Linked DNA regions of Homo sapiens: region 2 is linked to region 1. The links are contacts of gene promoters, found by promoter capture Hi-C in blood cells and fetal thymus (Javierre and others, 2016). All regions are on one chromosome and are shown on one strand. The core of a region is centred on a gene start or on the middle of the fragment in contact, and the rest is flanking DNA. Distances in the headings are between cores, read along the strand shown.

Evidence for each region. The method cuts DNA at HindIII sites, captures the fragments that hold promoters and counts their contacts. A CHiCAGO score of 5 or more calls a contact.
Region 2: a fragment that was not itself captured here is called in contact with the fragment with the promoter of NRG2 in region 1 in 1 of 17 cell types (M1 macrophages); the score reaches 5.2 in M1 macrophages.

Annotation. Positions count from the first base shown.
Region 1 is chr5:140,040,299-140,046,553 of GRCh38, reverse strand. NRG2 (neuregulin 2) reads left to right here and starts at 3,255. Exons shown (of 10, transcript NM_004883.3): 1 at 3,255-4,184. The coding sequence starts at 3,485. RefSeq lists silencers at 3,113-3,452, 3,613-3,822 and enhancers at 3,121-3,790, 5,163-5,352. The HindIII fragment of the contact is 2,328 bases long and covers 3,171-5,498 here.
Region 2 is chr5:139,767,038-139,773,292 of GRCh38, reverse strand. It overlaps a transcript of PSD2 not described here. Among named protein-coding and RNA genes, the nearest start is that of PSD2-AS1, 24 kb to the right of the region's middle. The HindIII fragment of the contact is 926 bases long and covers 2,217-3,142 here.

The sequences.
Region 1 (6,255 bases), core at 2,006-4,505:
GGAAAATAATATTTTTATTCTTCATGACATGTGCTGTTGAAAAATTGTATCGCCTTTTTTTTTTTTTTTTTTTTGAGACAGTGCTCTGTTGCCCAGGCTGGAGTGTAGTGTCATGAGGCTCACTGCAACCTCTGCCTCCTGGGTTCTAGCATTTCTCCTGTGTCAGCCTCCCAAGTAGCTGGGATTATAGGGGAGCGCCACCACGCCTGGCTAATTTTTTTTTTGGTAGTAGTAAAGATGGGGTTTCACCATGTTGGCCAGGTTAGTCTTGAACTCCTGACCTCAAGTGATCCACCCCACTCAGCCTACCAAAGTGCTAAGATTACAGGCATGAGCCACTGCACCCAGCCGCATTTTTTAATATACAGAAAATCCTAGTGAATATTTTTAATATACAGAAAATAAATACCACTTAGAGATTCTCAGCTCTTAGATTGGGAACCACCAGTATAAGTAAAATATTAGTAATCTTCAACTTTAATTTTGGCCCTTACTGTGCACCAGACATTGTTCTAAGCACTTTACATATTATCTCACATAATCCACATCCTCATCATCCTTCTAGTCTCAGCTTAAATGTTATCTCCTCAGAGAAGCCTTCCCTTATCCAAGTAGACCTATCCTCTCCCCTTTCCATTATTCTCTAGCATTTCATCCTGTTTATTTCCTTCAGGACACTCAGCAATACAAGTAATTAGTTACCCATTTGTGTACTTATTTACTGTTGTCTTCCCAGTCAGAGTATGAGCTTTGAGAGCACAGACATGTACTATTGAACAGTTTGGTTCACCACAGTACATCCAGTAACATACAGTGCCTCAGTGCTTGGCACAGAGGAGCCATTCAATTGAATATTTATTGAAAGTACATACTGAGCAAAAAACAGCTTTACGAAGTAGACCCTATTATTTTCTCCTTCATACTGATAAGGAAACTAAGGCCTAGAGAGTGAAATAGACTCATCCCAAAGTTGGTAAGTCACAGAGTTGCTTTAAAACCCAGCTCTGCTGGGCTCCAGAGCACAAGCTCTTCACTATGACCCTGGTCTCAGGAACAGAAGACTGAGTTCAGTCCTGGCTGTGTGAAATGTTGAGTAAGTCCCCTATCCCCTCTGGGACTTTTTCTTTCATTGTAAAATGAAAGAGTGGATGTCGCTATCTTCCTTATGGTGATGTTTTGTGATTTATGAGGTCTGTGATCTATGAAAATGAAATGGGGGACACTGAAGGAGCCAAGAAGATTGGCTTGATGCCTTTAAGCGTGCCGATTTTCAGTTATTTTCTTCCTTCTCTCCTTCTTTCACTGGAGATTTGCTAATCCTTATTTTATGCCAGGCATTGTGTTGGAGGTAATAGGAATCCAAAGATGAATAGGATATATATAGTCCCTGACATTAACGTGCCTGGCCTGATGGGAGATGCAGACCCATTAAATGGCTGCTTGAAATACGGTATGGGCCAGTATCCCAACAGTAATACTATGTGTGAAGCTCATGGCAATACAGAGGAGGAAGGGATTAATTCCATCATGTATGTGTTGGTGGGAGTAGAGGTGGATATGTAGGAAGGGGGATGCGGTATAATGCTGAGCTGGGCCTTGGGAAAATAAGTTTTCCATGTGGTCAAGGTGGAGGTGAGGCTTTCTGGACACAAGAGACATCATGTGCAGAAGCACACCAAGAAAGAGCATGAAGTGCTGAGGATTGCTAGAGTGGGGGGTTGGCTCTCAGGATATGAAGCTGGCTAGGCAAAGGGAGCCCATGAAGAGCCTTGCTGAGGAGTTTGAACTTAACTTCTGAGAGCAGTAGCATGGCCAAATTGTACTTACATTTTATTTTTAGAAGGATCACTCTGGCATTGGTAGGACTGGAGATAGGTGATGAGGTGAAAGGAGTGGAGACCAGTTAGAAGGCTTAGAAGTTGTCCAGGTGAGAGATGATGAGGGCTTGGACTTAAGGTATTTGCAGCAGAGTTGGAGTGGAAGTAGATAAATTGGAGATTATTTTAAAAGAGAGACCCAAAGGCCTTGGTGATTAATTGGATGAGGAAGAATAAAAGATGAGATGAAGGGACTTATTGTAATGGATTGATGTAGTCTAAAAGAATAAAACAGTGGCATTAATAATTATAGGGGATTTGGAGTGAAGTGGAAGAAATAATGATGTTGGCTTTGGATGTATTGAGTTTAAGATGTCTCTTAGCTAGGAGGAAAGGTGTAGCTCTCTCTACTTCCTTTCCAGAATAGCAGTCCTAGCCTAAGTCACTCATCCTTGGACCAGTTTCCTGTGGAGCCCAGTGCGGTATAAAATTCCCCAAGAGCTCACTGGCATTCCTGAGCTCCACATCCTTCAAGGTTAAAAGCTGGGTGTTGAAAACTCCCTGGACCCTCATTGATAGGCTAATGGATTATGGACCTGTGTGTGTGTGTGTGTGTGTGTGTGTGTGTTTTAAATCAGATGCTGGCTCCAGTGCAGCAAACTCTTCTGCCTCTTGCAAGCATCAGCCTTGGAAACAAAACAAAACAAAACAAAAAAAACCTTTTTTATGGAGCAGCCTCTGGCCCTGACAGGCTCTGGCTCTCTGTTGGCTCCCAAGAAGCCCCCCACCTTTCTTAGAGATCAGATTTTTAAAAGATGAGGTTGTACAGTGCTCAGCCAGATCCCCACGTGGCCGCTGAAGAAAGCCCAGAGTGTTGGGGACTGGGCCCTTTCTCAGCTACCACCTCTGCTTGGGTGTCCTCAATGCTAAGACAAGACACCTTGTGGCCCAACTCTTTCCAAAATGACGGGGCTGGGATTCTCCCCCACCTCAAGTCGAATATCCAGCGTTCACCAGGCGGTGGCAGGACCGAGCACGTGGTATCATTTAGGGGCTGGGCTCCAGGGTCCTCCTAGGAAAGAGGACAGCCCAAGAGGCGAGAGGCTGGCCGGCCACCCTGGCCATGGCAACCTCTCTGGCTCCTACAGCTGCTGGCCAAAGGCAGGGGGCACGCCCTGCGTCCCATTACCACGTTCATAGGATGGTGCCAGGAGCCCGTTATCTCTTCTTCGCCTTCTCCTCACGCACCACCCCCACTGTCATGCCGATAAATCCCGGGAGCAAAGGGTGGCACGATTCCTCCCGCGCCCCTGCGGGCTGAAGGCGGGCACTAAAGCAGTGCAGTCCCAAGCTTCCCCTGCAGAAGCCGCGCTCCCTACTCGGTCCGGGGGCAGAGGGGGCGCGAGAGAGCAAGTGGGCGGGCGTCCCATCCTCCGCATCCTCCTCCAGGTCCTGGCGCACAGGGTGGGAGCGCTGCGCTGCGCCGCGCTGCGCATCGCGGCCCGCTTGCCGCCTGCCCCCTGCCCTAGCTGGGCCACCTCCCCGGGCTGCCGGTGGAGGGCTAAGAGGCGCTAACGTTACGCTGTTTCCGGTTTTCCAGCGGGCTCTGTTTCCCCTCCCAAGGCGGCGGCGGCTGAGCGGCGGAGCCCCCCAAATGGCCTGGCCAGATGCGGCAGGTTTGCTGCTCAGCGCTGCCGCCGCCGCCACTGGAGAAGGGTCGGTGCAGCAGCTACAGCGACAGCAGCAGCAGCAGCAGCGAGAGGAGCAGCAGCAGCAGCAGCAGCAGCAGCGAGAGCGGCAGCAGCAGCAGGAGCAGCAGCAACAACAGCAGCATCTCTCGTCCCGCTGCGCCCCCAGAGCCGCGGCCGCAGCAACAGCCGCAGCCCCGCAGCCCCGCAGCCCGGAGAGCCGCCGCCCGTTCGCGAGCCGCAGCCGCCGGCGGCATGAGGCGCGACCCGGCCCCCGGCTTCTCCATGCTGCTCTTCGGTGTGTCGCTCGCCTGCTACTCGCCCAGCCTCAAGTCAGTGCAGGACCAGGCGTACAAGGCACCCGTGGTGGTGGAGGGCAAGGTACAGGGGCTGGTCCCAGCCGGCGGCTCCAGCTCCAACAGCACCCGAGAGCCGCCCGCCTCGGGTCGGGTGGCGTTGGTAAAGGTGCTGGACAAGTGGCCGCTCCGGAGCGGGGGGCTGCAGCGCGAGCAGGTGATCAGCGTGGGCTCCTGTGTGCCGCTCGAAAGGAACCAGCGCTACATCTTTTTCCTGGAGCCCACGGAACAGCCCTTAGTCTTTAAGACGGCCTTTGCCCCCCTCGATACCAACGGCAAAAATCTCAAGAAAGAGGTGGGCAAGATCCTGTGCACTGACTGCGGTGAGTCGCCCCCTCCCTTTGCTGGAGAAAGGGGGGAGGGGCGAGGTGGTGGAGAATGGGGGTGGGGCGGGGAGGTGCTGCAGGTGCCCGGGCCTGGCAGCGTCCGGGCGCTGGGGGGGTGGGGCCGCCCCTGGGCAGGGCGCCTGGCACGGGTGGGTGAGGGGGTTGGGGTTGGAGAGAAGAAGGATCAGGCTCAAAGTGTGCCAGGGGTGGGGGGCGGAGGGAGGCGCTGGCCTGTGCCAGCGGGGATCTGCGGCTGATGTATGGCATGTGGGGCTGGAAAGCTGCCATCATAGCCCAGTAGCGGAAGGAAAAACGGAGAGGTCCTGGCGGTGCTGGCCTGAGGCTCAGTGAGTCAGGAGTGACCCTCGGAGGCCTTGCCTGCCCTGCTGCCGCGGGCCTGCCGTGCCCAGGCTGGCAGGGTCTGCGGGAGCAGCTGGGCAGACTCCCAGGCTGTGAAGGCCTCCGCTTACAAGTTCTCCTAGGGAATGGTCGCCCCCGCCCCCTCCTTCCTCTCCTGGGCTCGTTGCTCTGCTCATCCACACCGCTGGCGCAGGCAGAGTTGGACTTTTTCTGCTACTGTTTTCCGTCCTCCATGTGGCTCCAGTTTTTTTCTTCATCGTGATTGCCTGTCTTTGCTAAGCAGGTAGCACATCCTTCTCTTAAGACTAGCAAGCAGACACCTTTTTTTTTTTTTTTTTTTAGCTGTTTCTGGGGGAATTACAAGGTCTGTTGATTGTGATGATGATGAAAGAGAGTAACTTCTGCTGAATGCTTTAAGTTCAGCTCTAACGTCTTACTCGCCGGATGTATTTGACTGCATCTCTCATCTTCATGATGTTGGATGCTGCACAGGAATGCAGGTGATTAGAAACAAAACACTGAAATCTGTAGATCTCTGCAGCTGGGAATGGAAGTCTCCCATGTCAAAAGTCAAAGAAATGTCAGTCTAAGAGCTTTTTCTTCTTGTCCCTGAATCCAGTACTTACTTCTTAGTAAGATATTTCAAATCAAATTGTCCCACACTGGAGTATTTGGTGTAAGCCTGTCTCGTGCTTATTCAAATTGAGGTTTCGTTTTGTCCCAACTAAAGCTGAATTTGTTGGCATGCGGTATGACTTGCTGGACTGTGTAATCGCTGAATTATGATAGATGTCCTGTACTCTCATAGAAGTTGGTATGTTTACCAGTTTTACCAACTGATTCTGGGTAGTGTAGACAGGCTTTGTTTGAGTAGCAAAATATGTGTAACAGCTTATAGTAAGTTTTGCTGCCTTCATCTTTCTAGATCGATACCTATGATTTTTGGAAGCTTTCCTCCCCCACCCCCTTCAGGAGGCAAATTTTAGGAGTTTAGTGATGGGAGTATATCTAGACACTAACTATGTTAAACTGTGATCACTTTAATGAGAAGAATCTTGGCAATGTCTTAATAAGGAGGGGAAAACTTTGGGGGATAACAGCAGTTTATCGCTCTGACATTATCCTTAGGAATATTGTTGACTGCTTTTTATTATTGGTTTTATGTTCTGAAATGTTTTATAAAGACAAGTAGAGACCAGCTAAGAATTTCTAATTTTTTATTCTATTAAGTATTTTGATACTTGGGGAGTATTAAAATACTCTGAGATGCCTTGGGGAGCTGTGAAACAGTATTGTACAGTGGAAAATAGATAGTAAAAATATTTATTGAATCTTGTCCAAGGACAGCTTCTGTTTGGTTGTTGGTGAGTTGCTCCTGCATTTGCACAGTGTACATCTCCACATAATCCCTAGTCTGGGCCGCTGAGGACTTGATGGTCTTTGTCAGATAACCCCATAGAGTAACTGGCTTCTCTGCTCCCTTGTCTCCCTCCTCCTACTTTCTCCTTCCCCCAACACAATACACCTTATCAATTACACATTGTTTGTTCTAGTGGGTATTCAGTAGCTTAACAGTTGAATGCAGAAATCATGAAAGATTTGAGGGGCAGAAATATGGTCTGTTTCTAGGTTATGATCATCTCATATTATCAAAATAGCATGTGTAGTATAGTTCTTAAAAAGATACATTTAGAACTGCAATCACTGG
Region 2 (6,255 bases), core at 1,430-3,929, 270 kb after region 1:
GAGACCCAATCTAAAAAAAGGAAGAAAGGAAGGAAGGTAGGAAGAAAGGAAGGTAGGTGGTTGCAGGGGTGGAGGGTGCTGGGAAAGGAGGTGGGGGAGTTACTGTTTTAATGAGTTCAGAGTTTCAGTTTTGCGAGATGAATGACTTCCAAAGATGGATGGTGGTGACGGTTGCACAATAATGTGAATGTATTTAATGTCACTGAACTGTATACTTAAAAAAGGTTAAGATGATAAATTTTGTTATGTATATTTTACCGTAAATAAAAAAATATGTATCAAAACATTTCTTTGCTTTTTCAATCCTGCCTCATTCATTAAACTGTGACCTCCATAAGAACAGTACCTGTATCTGCCTGGTGCACCTACTGTGTGTTGCTAGTCACTGAAGACTTGGGGACCAAGACAGACAAGGTGCCCACTCACCTGGAGCTCACAGCCTGCGGGGAGGGGAAAAAGATACTGAACAAACAAATAAACAAGAATATTATCACCTATTACCTGCTGTGCAGAAAATTAAAAAGTGAAATGTAACAGAGTGGCTGCATGAGGAGGAGTTTCAACTGGAGCAGTCAGGCATACCATCCCAGAGGAGGTGACATTTGTGCAAAGACCCAAGGAATGATCAAGAGTCAGTCATCAAGCATCCAGGAGACCTGAGCTGCAGACAGAAGAAACAGCAAGTGCAAAGGCCCTGTGCTGGGCATGAGTGTGGCATGCTAGAGGAACAGCAGAGAGAAAAGGAGGGGACGAGGAGGAGAGATGAAAGAAGGAGGCCCTGGGACAGGGAGAAGGAGAGGGGACAGAAGGTGTTCCTGGTCGCAGAGCAGGGAGGCCTCACTGGATCACCAACCTCCTCTTCACAGCAGGGGAGGAGGGGCTCCATGAACCGAGACCTCTAAGTGCCCAGCTCTGCACCAAATGCTTTTTACAGATCGGCTCGGAGAATGCTCTCAACAGTCCTTGGGGCAGGTATAGTCATTAGCCACAATATAAAGAAGGAAACAGGCTCAGAGAACTTGGCTGAGCTGCTGGGTCTGGGACTAGAGTCAAAGTCATAGAGCGGGAGGAGGGATCTAATGCCCCCTGTGCTGCCTTCAAGGACCCAGTCTGGGGACGCTTTTTCCTCCCACCCAGCTGCCCTTCCACTCCCACTCCCACTCCCTCTGCCTCTAGGGAGAGGGCCTCGCACAGGAGGCCTGGCTGCTAACTGATCCCTGCCAAGGGCTTTCCGTTCCTCCTCTCATTGTCCCCTAAGAGCAAGCCAAGGAGAGAACCCACTACCTCTCCCTCACCTGGCTGGGGAAGGGTGCTGGGAGCGAGGAGACAGAAGCCCATCTCCAGTCCCGCAACACCGTTTCTGAGGCCCCTCTGCAGGCCCTGCCCTTGGAAGGGGTTGGACCGTGGTCCTTGGATGGCAGCCCAGTGGTCAGTGAAGATGCCCCCCAAGGCCAGGGGCAACAGCATCTTGAAGTCTGAGAGAACTTACTTCCCCATATGCGCTACACTGCCCCAGACCCTAAATAGCCTGTGGCACACCAGGGAGAGAGCCAGACTCCAGGGACAGCCAGACCTTGCACCAGCTGGGAAGAATGTTATAGAAAGGAAAGCAGGCTGCGGGGCGCGGTGGCTCAAGACTGTAATCCCAGCACTTTGGGAGGCCGAGGTGGGCGGATCACGAGGTCAGGAAATCGAGACCATCCTAGTTAACACGGTGAAACCCCATCTCTACTAAAAATACAAAAAATTAGCCGGGCGTGGTGGCGGGCGCCTGTAGTCCCAGCTACTCGGGAGGCTGAGGCAGGAGAATGGCGTGAACCCAGGAGGCGGAGCTTGCAGTGAGCCGAGATTGTGCCACTGCACTCCAGCCTGGGCGACAGAGTGAGACTCCATCTCAAAAAAAAAGAAAAGAAAAGAAAAGAAAGCAGGCCTGCTTCCTGCCTGCACTCCTGCGCTCAGGCTATTCAGGGCCTTACCCACCACGGCGGCTCCACCACAGAGGGAGTGCCCAGGGGTGGGGCAGCCCCGGGTCCCCAGGCCCGCAATTCCTCACCCTAAAATAGAGACTCCGCCACCCGGGCCAGTCACAACATGGGACCCAGCACAAAATGAAAATGTGGAGCTTCTTGTTCAAAAAGCAGGAGGGAAATGCCTAATAATAAAGGCGCTAAAATATAAAAGTATCTATGTATCTGTACCTAGAGATATATAAAGCTTCGCTTCTTTTCTGTTGGTCTGCCTCTAGATTTGTCATGAGTTTGTATTTGTTAAATATCATTTTAAGTAAAGAAAAATGAAAAATCTAAATGACTAGCATGAATTTTACTATTCATCTTTCTATTGTGCAATGTCAGTTTTAAATGCAAATATAAGGGTGTTTAACTCATATGCAGAATCATCAAAATCGTATAATTTGTATTCAGTACCTTGTGCACACATGTGTATTTCATCTTACCTGAAATGGTGGGAAAGGGCACAAAACTTACTCAACTGTTTTCATTTCTTTTCTTGACTTATGCACATTCTCTCAACATGCTCTGCTTTTAGCTTATGATGTGTGAGGAGGGGCTGAAAGGAAAGGAACTACAGGTTGCCTGATCTGTCCCTGTCCTAGCTCATCATGATTAGTGTCAGCGGTTGGCTTATCCAGCGAAATAACATGAGGAAGAAGGCTATAGCAGGGTTCCTGGGCCATTCATGTTTTTTTGTTTGTTTGTTTGTTTTTTTGACACGGAGTCTCGCTCTGTTGCCCAGGCTGGAGTGTAGTGCCGCGATCTCAGCTCTCTGCAACCTCCGACTCCCCAGTTCAAGCAATTCTCCTAATTCTCCTGCCTCAGCCTCCTGAGCAGCTGGGATTATAGTCCGCCTGCCACCACGACCAGCTAATTTTTGTATTTTAGTAGAGATGGGGTTTCACCATGTTGGCCAGGCTGGTCTCGAGCTCCTGACCTCAGGAGATCCACCTGCCTCAGCTCCCCAAAGTGCTGGGATTACAGGCGTGAGTCACCAAGACAGGCCCTGTTCATGTTTCTTAGCACACAATTGCCTTCTTCTTGCATCTGGCAAGTTCTGGTTGAAATGGATGGTGAGGTCCCTCAGGGCTGTCAGCGTTCCTCTTACTCAGTTGTAGACATAACAAGCTTACCTTACACTCACTTTGAGTCTTGCTGAGCCCCCACATGTGGTGGGGTCATCAGAATCCTGTGCTCACGGGCATCACCAGCACTGCATGCACACAGGAGCCCCAGCCGGCCCGCATGACACCCAGGTTCTACCTCTCTGTGTACCGCATGCTCCACTGTCCCACTGGACCCCACTTACAAAACACAAGTTCAAAGATGAAATTATGAGACATTTCAAGACAGCTACAGCAGAGCATTAAGGTAAGCAGGCCCTGGTGAGCATGGGGCCCTGTGTGACCCCACGTCAATGAAGCTGCCCCACCTCCACCCTCACCGCAAGCCAGATGGAAACTTCCAAGGAGGACTGTGGCTGGCCCAACTCAGGGCACTGCCCCCCACTGCCACCATCAGTGTCTTGAGTCCGAAGTGCAATGACTGACCCAGCCTGGGTCACAAGGCCACCCATGGCCAGGTAGGAGGTGAAGGTGGGGCATCTATGACTCACTTCACCTTTAGGGAACAAAGGTGTGTCCCTGAAGGGCTGGGCAAGTGCTGGACAGATGAGAACTCAAGCCACCACAGTCCCCTGCCCATAGGTGAGGTTCAGTACAGGAGGGCAGTTCAGGCAGGGGAGAAGTCTTTATAATGAAGGAAGGTGGGAAGCCTGAGGAGCCACAAGTGCTACAGCCTGGCTGCCCCCCACAGAGGAGCTGGGAGAGATGAGGGCATAGAGGTAGCAGGTCACATGGAGGCCCTGAGTGCCCTCCATTGGGACTTATCGCACTCTGACCATGCCACCCCTGTCTAGAAGCTTCTCTGGATTTTTGCTGTCAGGAAAATACCCACAGCCCTATCCCTGAGGCCTGAGGCCCGTCCTCCTCTCCCCCAACCCCCGCCGCCACCTGCTCTGCTGCAGCCGTAGCCCTGCTTGCCCTGGGTCTTAGGCTCTGTGCCTGTTCTTCCCTTTGCCTGGAGCCCTCTTCCCACCATGCTCCTTCTTCAGACTATGCACACTCCCTCTGGGTCCTGGCATGAATATCACCTCCTTCAGGAAGTCTTCCCCAACCCACCAGGCTGGGTCACAGGCCCTGTGCTTCTCCAACATCACTGCCTGGTGACTCATCTTCCCCTACCCTCCACCAATGACAGAATTCCATGAGGGCAGGGACTGGCTCCTGTTCAGGGCAATAGCCCCAGACCCCAACACGTAGTAGGTGCTCAATAATGTTGTTGACTGAACGCATGAGTTCACAGGCTGTGGGAGTCTGGACTCTGCATGAGCTACTGTCTTGTCTTACAGATCAGACAGTTAGTCCAGGGTGGAGGGACTGAGAGGCATGATGCACCCACCATGTTGCAGGCCCGATTGGCTCTTTACATTCCTGACCTCACTTTTTTACTCCCATCCAGCCCAGGAGGGAGGGAGGTGTTGTTTTTTTTTTTTTTTTAGATGGAGTTTTGCTCTTGTTGCCCAGGCTGGAGTGCAATGGCTTGATCTCGGCTCACAGCAACCTCTGCCTCCCAGGTTCAAGCAATTCTCCTGCCTCAGCCTCCCAAATAGCTGGGATTACAGGCATGCGCCACCAAGCCCAGCTAATTTTGTATTTTTAGTAGAGACGGGGGTTTCTCCATGTTGGTCAGGCTAGTCTCGAACTCCCTTCCTCAGGCGATCCACCCACCTCGGCCTCCCAAAGTGCTGGGATTACAGACTTGAGCCACCATGCCTGGCCAAGGAAGGTGTTTTTATACCTGTTACACAAATGAGGAAACAGAGGGCAGTGAGTGGGTCACATTCTCTTTTTATGCCCTCCTCTCCCCCACTACACACATCTAAACCGCAGCCAGGGTGACCAGCCCACTGGCCTCTCAGCCTGGAGTCCAGAGGTCCTCTTTTCTTGGCCTGTCTGGGAGAGAACTCTCTCCCAGCTGGGGCCTGTCCTATCCTTTCTCCCTCCTCTTCCTCCCCCTCCCCACTTCCTTCCTTCCTGCTGTAGGATATTCCCTTTGCAGGAAAGGTTCCAGGTTCCGGGGCAAGGCCCCCAGGTTCAGCTGCCCAGGCTGGGACACGTGCTACCTCCATCAACCAGCCCCTTTGCCCTCCCTGGCGGGGGGCCAGATATCTGAGCCAGGCCCAGGGGACAGGGGAGCACTGCACAGGGGACAGCTCAAGGTCTTCTTGTCCCTCTCTCTGCCTCCAGCCCTAGCTGAGGCAGAGGACTCTGGAACTCATCCTGGTGCCCTGGGGTCAGGCACTAGACCTGGTAGGGGCTTTGTCACTCTGCCTGTGAGCTGGTCATCACTGAGAGCCTCTGAGCAAGAGCCTTACCTCTGTCAAGCTGGTATATAACCTCTTGGATTGCATGTGCTGAATCACTTTGCACAGCACCTGGCACAAAGTGAGTGCTCAGTTAACATTATTAACAGCTCCAATCATTGTTATTATTCTCTCCAATATCATCCTCATCTGACTGAATCTTTACAGCTCTCCTGGGAAGTAGGTAGAGTTTTGATCCTCATTTTATAAATAAGAAAACTGATGCTTACAAAGACAGGAGGGGCCAGATGCCGTGTCTCACATCTGTAATCCCAGCACTCTGGGAGGCCGAGGTGGGCAGATCACTTGAGATCAGGAGTTCGAGACCAGCCTGGCCAACATGGGGAAACCCCGTCTCTACTAAAAATACAAAAATTAGCTGGGCATGGTGGTGCATGCCTGTAATCCCAGCTACTTGGGAGACTGAGGCATAAGAATCCCTTGAATCCGGGAGGTGGAGGTTGCAGTGATCTGAGATCGTGACATTGCACTCCAGCCTGGGCAATAGAGTGGGATTCTGTCTTTAAAAAATAAAAATAAAAGGAAGAAAGAAAGAAAGATGGTGGCTGGGTGCGGTGGCTCACGCCTGTAATCCCAGCACTTTGGGAGGCCGAGGCAGGCGGATCACGAGGTCAGGAGATCGAGACCATCCTGGCTAACACGGTGAAATCTGTCTCTACTAAAAATACAAAAAAAATTAGCTGGGCAAGGTGGCGGGTGCCTGTAGTCCCAGCTACTCGGGAGGCTGAGGCAGTAGAATGGTGTGAACCTGGGAGGCAGAGCTTGCAGTGAGCCGAGATTGTGCCACTGCACTCCAGC